Regions from separate parts of the Homo sapiens genome. Here region 1 is linked to region 2. The links are contacts of gene promoters, found by promoter capture Hi-C in blood cells and fetal thymus (Javierre and others, 2016). All regions are on one chromosome and are shown on one strand. Each heading gives the region's core, a stretch centred on a gene start or on the middle of the fragment in contact. The rest is flanking DNA. Distances are from core to core; before and after follow the strand shown.

What was found. Contacts are between HindIII fragments. The CHiCAGO score rates a contact against its expected background, and 5 or more counts as called.
Region 1: a fragment that was not itself captured here is called in contact with the fragment with the promoter of DLEU7-AS1 in region 2 in 4 of 17 cell types (monocytes, M1 macrophages, M0 macrophages and 1 more); the score reaches 5.9 in monocytes.

Annotation. Positions count from the first base shown.
Region 1 is chr13:50,235,380-50,242,291 of GRCh38, forward strand. All of the region lies in intron 2 of DLEU1 (deleted in lymphocytic leukemia 1), which reads left to right. It overlaps LOC124900337 (a long non-coding RNA gene), which reads left to right. Exons shown (of 2, transcript XR_007063796.1): 2 at 1-3,965. Among named protein-coding and RNA genes, the nearest start is that of DLEU2, 110 kb to the left of the region's middle. The HindIII fragment of the contact is 2,738 bases long and covers 1,329-4,066 here.
Region 2 is chr13:50,806,258-50,813,186 of GRCh38, forward strand. It overlaps DLEU7-AS1 (DLEU7 antisense RNA 1), which reads left to right and starts at 1,598. Exons shown (of 5, transcript NR_046551.1): 1 at 1,598-1,729; 2 at 2,283-2,449. It also overlaps a transcript of DLEU7 not described here and the pseudogene RNA5SP28. The HindIII fragment of the contact is 1,259 bases long and covers 1,545-2,803 here.

The sequences.
Region 1 (6,912 bases), core at 1,448-3,947, 570 kb before region 2:
AAAGCACCTGAAAAAGCATGTAGAGTTGTTGAGCTTTTATCTTTCTTTCTGGTTCAGCATCTGGCATAGTAGGTGCTAGACTGACACTTGTTGAATGAATGGAGGTATAGTAGAAATAGCTTCTCTGGGATTAATTTTATGGTTTGTAGTTTTGTTGCACTATGTATGGGTGGCATGTTGAAGGAAAACCCTGAAGGCCTAGATTCCAGTCCCACTTTCGCCACTCATTACTTCTGTGACATTGGCCCAGACACTTTGACTTCTCTGGATCTCATTTCCTACTTGTAAAACAGGGACAATAATGCTGTCCTTCTCATGCACATGGTTGTTATTTGCATTAAATGAGATAATGGGCATGAAAGCAATGGAAAACTCTTAAGGTACTCTACAAATATAGAATATAATCATTTTGAAAGCACCTGGCTTTGTAGACAACTGCGTGAACTAATGTATATTGATCAAGACATGTGTCTCGTTAGGTAAAAACTGAAAGTAAAACTCATACACTTAAGATGTGAAAATAAACTCAGCATCTGGCGTAACACTAATTTCAAAAAGTAGTATATTAATTTCAAGTAGGAAATTAAAACAATAAAACTGTGATGTGAAAAATGTTCAACATTGATGCCTCTGACCTACTTCTGATGTCCAACATATTTACAATTCTCCCGAAGACATTTCTATTAGGTTAAAACCCATTAGTATTTGTGAACAAACACAGAGTTTCTACCATTCACTGGGCACTATTAGGTACTAGGTGTCCGGGGATATTTCTATTGCTGTTCTTAGCTCTATTGTTGGTTTACTTGGCCAGTGGTTGCTAGCTTTGCCAGTGTGTGTGTGTTTGTGTGTGTGTGTTACTTATCACAAGTTTCGTTAGCTTGACAAAGAGCTGTGTATATTCATTTACATGACAAATACTTTTTTTGGATTAGCAACTCTAATAAGTACAGGGTATTTAGAAACTGTGTGTGTGTTTTTCTACCTGCAGTCGTAGTCTTAAGTATGTTTCTTAATAGCTATTGAACATAAGTTTAATATTAGCTGGATGAATAAAGTATTAGTTACTGTATTCTCTTAAAAATAGACGTAGCTTTGTTACAGCACAGAAAACTGAGCTGACCTCTTACTAGATTGGCTAAAATGAATTCTGATTAAACATTTTGTAATGGTTTATAAAGTTCGCTTCTCTACAGTATATTAAAAGATTTGTTTAAATGTTGACTGTAAGTTTGGTAAAAATGACAAAGCGGTAAAAATGACATTTGGTAAAAATGACAAGGCTTACACTTTTTGATGATGTTCATTTTCCCCAAAAGTACAGCTAAAGCTTTATCCATTATAATGAGAGTTCAGAAAAGGCAAATGACCACCTCTTTTTTTAAACCAATATGTCTTTGTGCAGTAATTTTCTTGTGGCAAGTGGCATAATCTGGGCGAAGGTAGTGATAAAACTCAGATATATTTCAAGAAAGCGAGTAAACACACTAATGACAATATTCGTATATTACATGCATCTGCTGCTTATGTACTTAAAAAAACTAAATAGGAAAATCTTACTCATCTCTGTAGAAAAACAGGGTAGAGATTACAACTTGGGGACTTCGTGATATTTTGTCTGTGTGCAGTTTGTCAGAAGGCAATTTATCTAAAGCTGGAAAAGGATATGGTTTGGCTGACTAAACTGTGTAGTGATACGAGTGATACGTAATGATAAAAATGCTTAGGGGAATTTTCGGGGCGCTCAAGTCAAGTGTACAGTGCTGTGTGGGTGTAAAAACCAGACTTCTCTCTCTGTGAAAGTTGCTGACATTTTATACCACATGCTGGACCGTTAAATCACAATTTACGTGGTCACTTGTAAATACGCCTGGTGGTGGAGGGCGAGCTTGTTTGTGCACACTTTGACATGCTTCCCTGTTGTGTGCCTCTCCCCTTTTTAAATTGCACTGGATACTTTTGTTCTGGAATCCTTGGCTGTCTAACCTGAAAGCAGTTTGGGTGAGAACTCTGGAACTGATTTATTTTCATAGGTGCTCCCTGAGGGGAGGTTTGAAGGATAATGCAGAAAAGCAAGCCTTCCAATCCTCCAACTAAAGTTCTCTAACTTGCTATTAACATGATTTCAGGCTTGCTAGAGTGCCCGAAATTCTGACATGAAGGGATTCCTTCTTCCACCACTGGGATTTGGAAGTCCCTAGGATGTTTGAATGGGGCATATTATTTAAACTCATTTTCAGTCTCCTCATTGGTAAAATGGGGCTACTCATACTTATCAAAGAGGGTTTTTGTGGAGATCAAATGAGACAATGCAAGTCACTTACTTGATATATGCTTAATAGTGACAAACATAGTGATATATATATATTAATAGTGATAGTTATTGCAATTTTTCTTTTTGTTAGGGGGAAGAGGAGGACAAACAGGCCTTTAACATGGTGGAGAATTTGTTTCCCTTCCAAATACAGTTGGAGGATTACAGAATTGATGCTCAAAGAGAAGGCTTTGCTTTCATTGCTTAAGAGGGTTTCTTGGAGAGGTTCAGCAAGAGAAACACAAAATGAGATGTAGAAAGGGGATGGGGAAGGAGACTGCATACTAATGTGTTTCATTTCCAAGTGCTTTAACTTTTCTAAGCACTAAGTCATCTGCTAACTTGTCTTCATAATATATGGGTAAAGTTGGCAGGGTGGGTATCCCTTTCTACGGGTGAGGAAACTGGAGTGTGGACAGATAAACTCACCTGTTGTCACACAACAAATCAGTGGTACAGTTGGGATTAGGACCCATGTCTCATACTCTGAGCACAGCAGTCTCTCTATTAGGTGACATTCTCAGAGTTCAATAATTTCTTTCACAGTTTTGTGTTCAGACCTGGGGTCCCCATTGCTGAGCCTATTATTGGCACCTTACAAAATATCACATATGAGAAAGGTTGTAGTCTCTTGGTCCAAAGGACTACTTTCACCTGGAGATGGTTGGAGTTGTAGTATCTGAGTTAGATAAGTTTTCACTTCACGGTCATGGGTGGAGGTCTTTCTTGGACTTGGGCCAGGAAGAATCACTGACCAGGAAGGTCACACAAGGCCTGAGTCCTTTCTAACACCATCTGTGCACTGTATTTCAGGGCCTAGTGGCTGCATTGAAAGGAATGGAAAGTAGTTGCTGGTTATGTTGAGAAATATCAGGAAAGTGTGATGCCTTTCTCCTGTATTCCCTCTTCCCTCCCTCATTTTTTCACTTTATTGATAAAAATAATCCCAAAAGATCAGAGAGGGGTTCTATAGGTGTTAAACCACTGTGTTATGACTTGAACTACAAAGCCCTTGGGGGCATTCAATTTCCTCATGTTTTGGGGTAGCAGCAAAATTTAATTTTAGGTAGAAAAGGGTTAACTTAGGGGCAATGTAATTCCCAAATTATCAGTGTGAAAATCATCTAACTGTATGTGAAAAATCCAATAATGTTAAAGGTAATTATCTGGGAAAGTAAAAATAATACACAGGTCTTTGGCCAGAAATAAGGATTTGGAACATTTCTCTATGCATAGAGAGTTCTCTAGTAGGCAAATTTAGATTCATGTCAGTCATTAAAGGTCCCTGTGAAGTATTTAGTTTATCAATTTAGCGCTACATTTTTCTACAAAGAAGAGTTGGAGTGGTTTAGGTAAGAACACAGATATGCTAAAACCAAACCAGATGAACCCAAGACAGAAACTAGAAAGAAGGCAGAAGGAGAGGATGAAGATGTAGCAGTGAGAAGCCTGTTGGAGGAAAGTTTGAGTCAGTGAATGTAAGCACTTTAGCTTCCTTGTGGCCTGGAGAGCAGGTATTTTTTGGCTATTTTCTTTTTTTATACATGTATCTCCAGCACTAGAAGAGTGCCTGACCTGTAGTTGCTCAATCAATACTTGCTGAATAAAAATATATGAAAATCTGTCAAATAAAGGGTTTAAAAAAGCTGGACTAAAATGTTGAAAATGATTAAAGCTGGGTGATGGGTTCATGGGAGTCTACTAGACTATTCTCCTCTACATTTGTGTGTGATTGAGAAATTTTATAACAAAAGCTTAAAAAAATAACAAAGAAGACTAGACACTGTAATCACTGGAAATAACCAGACATTAAAAAATCTTTGTTTCCCTTTTTGTTACAGGGCAAGCAAGTAAAAAGACATTTTATATTACTAAACACTATCATATGCTAGACAGTAGTAAAACTATAGTCCCCAAGTTTATCTTTGAAGGACTCCAATGGCAAGATTTTTAATAAACAAAGCTGATCATCTCATCTGTATCATTATTTCTTATTATCACTCTATTATCATGGACTCCCAGGAATCTTGGAGATGAATTTGTTCACCTCCTCTAAGAGGAATCATCATCATTGTCCACTCCCTGTCAGCACTTTTTTTTGAGATGGAGTTTTACTCTTGTTGTCCAGGTTGGAGTGCAATGGCATGATCTGAGCTCACTGCAACCTCTGCCTCCTTGGTTCAAGTGATTCTCCTGCCTCAGCCTCCCGAGTAGCTGGGCCTACAGGCACGTGCCACCACGCCTGGCTAATTTTTGTACTTTTAGTAGAGTCAGGGTTTCACCATGTTGGCCAGGCTGGTCTTGAGCTCTTGACCTCAGGAGATCCGCCCGCCTCAGACTCCCAAAGTGCTGGGATTACAGACTTGAGCCACCGCACCCGGCCCACTATTTTTTTTTTTTTTTTTTTTTTTTTTTGGAGACAGAGTCTTGCTCTTTCACCAAGACTGGAGTGCAGAGGCACAATCTTGGCTTACTGCAACCTTCACCCCCTGGGTTCAAGCAATTCTCCTGCCTCAGCCTCCTGAGTAGCTGAGATTACAGGCACTTGCCACAATGCCTGGCTAATTTTTATATTTTCTAGTAGAGACGGGGTTTTGCCACGTTGACCAGGCTTGTCTTGAACTCCTGAGCTCAAGTGATACTCCAGCCTGGGCCTCTTAAAATGCTGGGATTACAGGCATGAGCCACTGTGCCCGACCCCTGTCAGCAGTTTTGCTCTTCCCCTCTCTCCCTCCAGGCCAGAGGCCATGATCTACATCCAACTTCTCTGCAAATTCCTGAACTCTGACTCGATTGTCCCTGTCAATCCTGCCTTTGTGTCTTCCCTTTGAACCTCACTTTCTGATTCTCCTGGCTTCTCTTCTTGACTGTCCCTTCTTGTCTTGCCCCGTTCAGGTGTAGGAACCTGGCCTCAGTCCTAATGAGGCTCCTTCAGGATGCAGCCTCTGTGAGCTGCTTTTGGCTTGTCATGTAACAGCTCTGGCTAGGACTGTGCTGTGTAGGGAGTACCGTCCAGGCACCCAGGGTTGCTGGTCATTACTTTCCTCCTGGCCCCCTGCCCTTTGGGTATGCATGACCTGATAAGGAGCTTAAGGAAACCCACATTAATAGCACTAAATTAGGCTCTATGGAAAGAGAACTCCACAGTCAGGATCTTTGTGCACTCAGGACGGGAAGCATGGACACCCTGGAGAGCATTTGTATTAACATGGGCATTTAAAAAGGTCATACAGCTTGGCGCAGTGGCTCATGCCTGTAATCCCCACACTTTGGGAGGCTGAGATGGGAGGATTGCTTGAGCCCAGGAATTCAAGACCAGCCTGGGCAACATAGAGAGACCTTGTCTCTAAAAAAAGAAAAAAGAAAGAAATTTACTAGATGTGGTGGTGCATACCTGTAGTCCCAGCTACTTGGAGGCTGAGGTGGGGAGGATCACTGAAGCCCAGGAGTTCAAGGCTGCGGTGTGCCATGATTACACTACTGTACTCCAGCCTGGGTGACAGAGTGAGACCCTGTCTCTAAAATAAATAAGTAAGCAAGTAAGTAAGTAAATAAATAAAGAAATAAAATGTTATACAGTTGCTTCTCATTATTCATGGTAGTTATGGTCTGTAAAGTTGCCATGAATACTGAATTAGTGAATACTGAAACATCCCATCTGGGGTAAATACAGCTTCTGGTCACAACAGTTCCTCAACTGATCAATACGTAATCTTGTTTTATGTGTATTTCTATTTAAAAAGACGTTATTACTTATGTATTGTTGATTTATTAACATTGAACTTAGAGCCTACAGCACTATTCCTGAAAAGTTAATTCCAGAATGAAGCTAATCTAACATACATATTTTCTCCTGAGGCACATTTCAGCCTTCTTGCACTTAGAAACACTAGTCAGAATGTTAGCACTATACTTGGGGTCCATTTTAAACAGTGAAATCAGCAAAAAAAGCACAAAAATGCAAAAAACGTAGCACAGCAAAAAGGACACTTGTTTATACTACAAGAGCTGAAACAAGAACACAGTGTGTTGCTTTGTTTGACCTCAGCTAGGAATGTGTGCATTGGGTGACTCAAATTTTATGCGGCTCTGCGCATGTCTGCAAATGTCCACGAAAGTGCTGTATTGATTTGGGGGTTATAAAAAAATTTTAGTGAGCAAGGGAATTCACAAATACAGAATCCATAAATAATGAGAATCAACTGTATCTCCATTAAGTTAGCATGATATGTCATTATATTTAATAAAACAAAACATGCAATTTACTATATGTATGTTATAAAATATATGTAGCCATGTAAAATCGTGGTTCTTAATTCCATATCTTTGAGCCAGGATATCTGAGATGATAAAATTAGATTTCTAGATGAGCTATAAAAATTTAAAATATATAATCTCAGGCTTTACATCTTTAGGCTGTAGATGTTTATCTACTTCTGTATACTTTATATACATATGATATCATATATTTTACCACATGTATAAGTGTACAATCTTAAATCTTCCTTTATTGCAGTGGAAAAAGTTGAACTGAGACAATTTTCAGTGATTATCTGAAATATCATGTTTATATTTAAAGAATATATTAAAATCTAAAC
Region 2 (6,929 bases), core at 348-2,847:
ACTTAGCTCTGCATGTTAAAATTGGAAGTCCTCAGATAATATTCCAAGAAATTATTTTTTATTTTCATCTTTGGTTGGTTGTTTTTTGACCATTGGATAGAGATCTTAGCATACTAAATGTCTTTATCCTGAATATATAGAGATTTTCTCTCCTTAATTTAATGATTTTATGACTTCTGCAATTCTTTTAGTGATTATTTAGTTCTCAATGAAGAACATAAACACAACTTTTTAAAAAACATGTATTAGTAAGGAAAAATTTGTTTTATATTTTCTATTGCCCTAAATTCTGACTCATATTAGACAGCTCGGAGTAATATTTAATACTTGAAACTTCACAAGTAATTACAAATAAATAAATGCTATAAATATTAAAAAATAGGAGCAATCTCAACTTTATCCTCACATTTTTCTGCTAAGACTTATTTAGTTACATATTGGGCTTATTTTAAAATTTAACCAAAATTATTTGATCTTTAATTATGTTTTTACCTAGAAATGTATATTTAAAAATAAAGTGTAATTCCAGTTGTATTTATACTATTCAGAATTTCAGAAGTCTGTAATCCCAGCTACTCGGGAGGCTGAGGCAGGAGAATTGCTTGAGCCTGGGAAGTGGAGGTTGCAATGAGCAGAGATCGCACCATTGCACTCCAGCCTGGGTGACAGAGCTAGACTCACTGCACTCTAGCCTGGGTGACAGAGCTAGACTCCCTCTCAAAAAAAAAAAAAAAAAAAAAAGTCGGTCTGCTCCTCTGCCTTTTTTTTTCCTACTTTTAAGAGTAGTCTGCCTCCGCAAACTTTAGTAAAGAAGTACTAAAATTAAGTGTGTTAAATGGTGTTAAGATATATATAAAAATTAATTTTTAAAGAGAGTTTAGATTGTTATCTTTAAATTTTTTTATACATTTCATAAAACATAAGTATTTCCTAATCATTAATAGGTTTTAATGAGCTTTAGTAGATGAGCAGAAATATCAGAGATATAAAATGATACTATACCGGCTTCCTTAAGAAGCTTTCTATTATTTCTTAGAATCCTGCTTTATTCTCTTTCTTGAATTCATACATGGCATTTAAAAATCTCTTAAAGATGGTCATCAAAAACAAACAAATTTTTTAAAAGATGGTATTTGACATCTCCCCTCCCTCCTCCTGCTTCTCTCAAGCACCAGTTTCCAGGTACCACTGCCTATAAAGCCTTTTCCAAACACAAATTTAATCTTTGAGTGTTGAGGTTTTTTTGGTGTTTTTTTTTTTAAGGTAATGTATTATCCTATGCAATGATATTGAGCTTTTGACTGAGAAATTGTGAAATCAAAAGTAAAGTATAGGAATTCCTTAATGGACATTTCAAGAACTTTGAAAGGCTATTGTAAGGGGAAGAAAGAGGGAAAATCTGTTTCAGTAGGAGACCTTCTCACCTCTTTACTCATAAGCCAGCCCGGGCATCATATGACTTCATCAGACTGCAACTTACTGTTCTCCCCTTTGTGGGGAGTGTCAAATGCTATAATAGAGTTCTCCAGTCTGAGGTCAGCGAAAGCTTCTCAAAGGAGATGATGCCTGGCTAAAGGGACTTTCTTTCTGAGAAAGGGATCAGCATGTGCAAAGATGAAGAGGCATAAGGACTGACCAGTGGGTCACGGCAATGAGACATTTACTGCTGACCTCCAAGAGAAGACTTCCATTGAATGAGAGGAAGATCTACACTACTAATGATCAAACTGTGAGTGTTTTAGCTTTGTAGACTTATCAGGAACTTGGGAGATCAAGAAGACAGGATCAAACAGCAAATGGAGCTTTATCAGAAATGAAGAAAAGCATTTCTCCACAGTCCTAAGCTAAACCCTTTCTGCTAGTCCCAGTTCTTATATGTGCATCAAGGCAAAAAAACATTAATCAGAACAGGAATGTTTGATTGCTCATTCAAATTTGAAATAAGCAGCTTCCATTCTTCTAACCTTCCCTGGTGGGGCCATAACATTATCAATCAATATCAAGTCTGGCATATCATTGGCTATCACTATCCAGTGAGTATCTGAGGCAGCTGAAAGAAATTGGGGCATCCATGTAAGAATATTCATTTTCTATCATTATTTACTTAAATATGTAATATATCAAGATCTGTTAGACATATTTAAGTATATATACTTATATGAGGTTGGGGGTCCCTGCAAGAAGTACCAAGTGTTTCTAGAAGAAATGTACTTGAATATAATCGCTGTATAATCACTGTGAGAACAGAGTTCCATATCTGTCCTGTACATGCTTGTCTCTAGTACCTGGAGCAGTATCTGACACAGATATGTGTTGAGTGAATGGATGAATAAATAGATAGAAGGAAGATCCTCCAACTATGAAGTTTCTTCTTTTCTTCTGCTGCTGTTGAGTAGATGAGGGTGCCAAGAAATAAGACAGCAACACCAGGAAGAAGAACAAATTTGGGGTGAGTAGGGGTGGAAAGGATGACTGATTTATAAATTGGGTTTAGGAGCCAAGAGTTATGCTCTAGCAATTGGGTATAGTAGAAGATATTTAAATAAGAAATTGCTGATATTCTTGCAAACTGAGCTTTTCTGTAAAATCATGAGTTTAGAATTCTTTATTTCAGAAGGAAAAAAAAAAACTTAGAAAGGTCAGTTGGAACAAAAAGGGAAATTAAAAAGCCACAGAGAGAAACAACTATGGTGTCCTGGGGTACATTTAAAATAAGAAGGTACTTAAGCAAAATCATTGCGTTGAGGACATTTTCTTAAATAGGATCAATTACCAGTGTCCCAGTCAATTCCACATGTCAAGAAGCTTGTCTACCTACTTGACTGACCCAGGCCTAAAAATGATAATAGCAACTTGGTGGAGTTATCTAAAGTTTGACAACCTTTCCTCACCAACCGGCAGCCCCATAGGACATATTAATCACTGCAGTTTTTACCTTGTACCAGATATTTAGAAAGTAAAACCGAAGAAATTTATTTCCATGTGTTTTGGTTGAAAAAAAGAGACGTTTCACTCAATCTATTCCAGAAAATATAGCCACTTTGGGACTGAACATTTCTTTCCATCTTAGCCCAAAGGCAATCACATTAGGGACGTTGTATGCAATTGGGGTGATAAAAATTGAGCTGTGGTCTAACCTATTGCATAATTTTCATTCTAAAATTACTTGACGCCGGACATAATGGCCCCATCAGTCAACCTATCATCTGGCTAGTTAAATGAAGTAAAATAACCTCAGCTGGTCTCAGAGGAGTGAGAATTCAACTGCCTGAGGGGTTGAGATTTCCTGAGAGTTTGTTCTGGATCTCTGTTGGGTCAGCCAGCATGCAATCTTACCTTCTGTCTCCACGGAAAAGCCCATTCAGGCCAAGGGAGAAGCTGCTTTAGATGAAGGCTGTAACCCAAGATGGAAACACTTAACCAGGCCAAAAACACTTTTTTCTTTTTGGTGGATCCAGTGCACAATGATTGTTCCTAATTAGGAGGTCTGACTTGAAAAGTTCTCCCCAAATGCCAGGAGAAAGTTCTCCTTAAGTGTCTTTGCAAAAAAGATACAGTGGGACAGAAAGTCAGTATTGATTTAAGGAACACAGCTGCATAAACAATGTTCATTCACCACAAGAAGAAAATTTATAGTATTTGTCAGGGAAAAGTAAACACGTTAGGGACTCTGTTTGTGACACAGTGTCACACATGATCCTTTGAGCCAGCAGGGACAAGAACAGATCAACAACAGAAGCAGCTTTCTCATGATGCTTGGGGTAGCACTTTTTTTTTTTTAACCTAACCCATTTTCTGCTTCATATTTTAAGAGGACATTACATTCAGACCATTGATACGTCTGTGGATGTTGGGGAAAGAGAGGAAACTATAGTGATGAGTCCTCTACCATCCTCATTCTCTATACTTTCCGGAAAAGAAATTCTGGAAAAAAAAAAAAAAAAAGCTAAAAAGCTAAATTCTCTTAAGAATTTCAGTGGTTGTAGGCATTCACTCCTGAAGCTATTTTTCCCCCAGGTTTGGGATTTGGCCCAGCCTTACAGAAATGTTTTCCAGACTTTAAATTTCATGGAGAGTTAAAATTGGTTTTAAACCCAATACAGAGTTTCCATCTTTTAATTTTACAAAGAAAGGTCATCTAAACAAAACAATATGTTTCTACCATCTATTATTACCTTTGCTTTCTATAAGATATGAATGTTTTAATACCAAAAGGGAAAGGCAAGAAAAGCAAGGATAAAAGCCTCAAAATAAAGGATAAAGCCCAATCCTTCTCATTTAGCTATTGAAAGTTGAAGACTATATCAGTAAGTGGCCCTGGTCCACAGACGGGCATTTGGAAATCACCGCATTAGGGGAAAGGCCACCGGGAATGTCTTGTGCCAAGGGCTGTAGAACACAGAGGTGTTTTGTTGTGTGTGGTTCATGCAGAGCTGTCATACCCATAGCTGTTCATCATACCCGTATCTCAGCAATCTATAAGTGTTGTTAAAGGGGCCTTGGGAGGAATTCAACTGTTGTGAATTTTTTAGTTTATTTTAAAGTTTGGCAAAATTTATATTATACATCCCTGGATTCTTAAATCTTTAAAGCCCAGTGGAATTTCAAAGAGCTTAATGATGTTTTCCTTTTAATGATCTTGACCCCAGAAATTCATTTTTAAAAGTAGTGTTACAGAGATAGAAAGTGTTCTGAACATTTTCAGGATAACCTGTGGTACCAGTGAACATACACAGACTTCCTAGGGGTTCCATGCAGGAAAGTGTGTATGTGTGTGCTTGTATGGGTATGCATGTGTGTGCCTGCATCTGTTTGCATGTGTGTGCATGCGTGGCAGCTGGAAGCACCTACCAGGGAGAGCCCTACTTTTGCTTGTCAGGGCCCCAGAAAACTGCAACTTATTGCTCTGACTTAAATTGGCAAACTATAAAGGTCACTTTTGGTCCTTTTTAGAAAACATCTAACCAGAAAAGGGAAGTGCAAATTAGAACAGTTTAGGCAGAAACTGAAAGTTAAGAACCGAGGGAAGGCCTTTAGAAAGAGAAGTAACCAGAGAGGTGAGAGGAAGAACACCAAGAAGAAGGAGTGCTCATATATGCCAGACTTCTTACAAGGAGTCCTCAGGCCTCCAGCAATCCATGGCTTTACTGAGAGCTTTCTCCTCTATATAGCACTCCTATCTATTAAATAGACATGCGTAAAATTGGCTAAAACCTCCTGTCCCAGAAAGGATTGTGATGATGGGCATTTCTGAGAGGGAAGTCTGCTCACCTGTGAAACGTTCCTGGCAGAACTTCTGTGGCTCAGTCCAGGAAGAAAATGGACCCATCAAATGGGTTTAGCATTGAGGCTCCCTTCCTAGCCATTGCCAGCCTTCCAGCACTAGCCACATGGCCTGCGGATGCTAAGTAGGAAAGCCTAGCTGCCCCAACAACCTGATGTGTTTTAGCTTTAGGGCCTTACAGAGGGAAGCCTGGATCAGGAGTTAGAAGAACTGGACTTGTCTTCATATTTAAATGCCTGTAAGATGTCTGGGCATGGTGGCTCATGCCTGTAATCACATCACTTCGGGAGGCCAAGGCAGGCGGATCACTTGAGGTCAGGAGTTAGAGACCAGCCTGGCCAACATGGCGAAACCCCATCTCTACTAAAAATACAAAAAATCAGCTGGGCATGGTGGCAGACTCCTATAATCCCAGCTACTCCAGAGGCTGAGGTAGGAGAATCACTTGAACCCAGGAGGCAGCAGCTGCAGTGAGCCAAGATCATACCATTGCACTCCAGCCTGGGTGACAGAGCGAGATTCCATCTCAAAAAAAAAAAAAAAAAAAATCTGTAAGATGAAGAAAGTTGGTGAATATCAGTGGGGTGTTTTGTTTTATTTTATTCACTGATTTACGGTATTTTTTTCAGTAGCAGAACCTATTTTCAATAGAAATGCGATTTGAAAATCAATATAAATGCATAAATATAGAAGCAGCTTGATGGTGTGTAGAAGGGGCTGCAGGAGTGGACACTGGATCTCAGACCTGAGGGGCCCCCGTGGACACTGCTGATCCCAACTGCTCTGAGAAACTCCTCTTGAGACCTCCGGCGAAGATGCATTTCGGGTTTGACTGACATTCTTCCAGCCCTCACATCTGCTGACTCAGGGCTAGTGCTACAGAAATCCCACTTGGGTGTGCACATGTGGTTAACATTTTCAAAGGGGAGTTTTAGTCTGTATGTAGGGTAAAGGCAAGAAAGGCCATGACAAGATCAACAGTTTACTCAAAACTAAGCCCAAGAAAAGCAGTTATAAAGGTCCTGTCTCCATGCATCTGAGGTGTAGCACAGCCCCTACCACAGTTATGTCTGCAGAGGGGCATAAACTTCAGTCTATAAAAACAAACAGCTTTACATCAATCACAATTAGGATTCAGGGTGTTACTTGTTGATATATGTGAATAGTTACATATAGCTATATATGTATAAATAGTTACATATAGCTATATACGTATAAATCCAGTTATACATATGTATGTATATGTATAAGTCTTCTCAGTAAAGCCATAGGTAAATAAATATTTAAAGTAATGGAGGAAATTCTTAACATGAAAGTAGCAAAGACTGTAGAATGACAGAAAAAAACCTCTAAAAATTAAAACTTCTGCTTAAGGTTTGATTTGAGCTGTTGCCTTTGAAAACCCAAATGGTCCGAAAAGATAAAACACCAAATAAATTTCTTTTAAGCCCACAGCACCCGTTATTCCCACGTGATCCCTTATTCAGATACTAACCAGGCCCGCCCCAGCTTAGCTTTCAAGATCAGATGGAACCAGACACGTTCAAGGTGGTATGGCGGTAGACTAAGATTTTTCTGACTAATGCATGGATACCAGAACTCTTTGGTGTCTAGTTTGAGAGCTGTGTCATATGAAATATATACT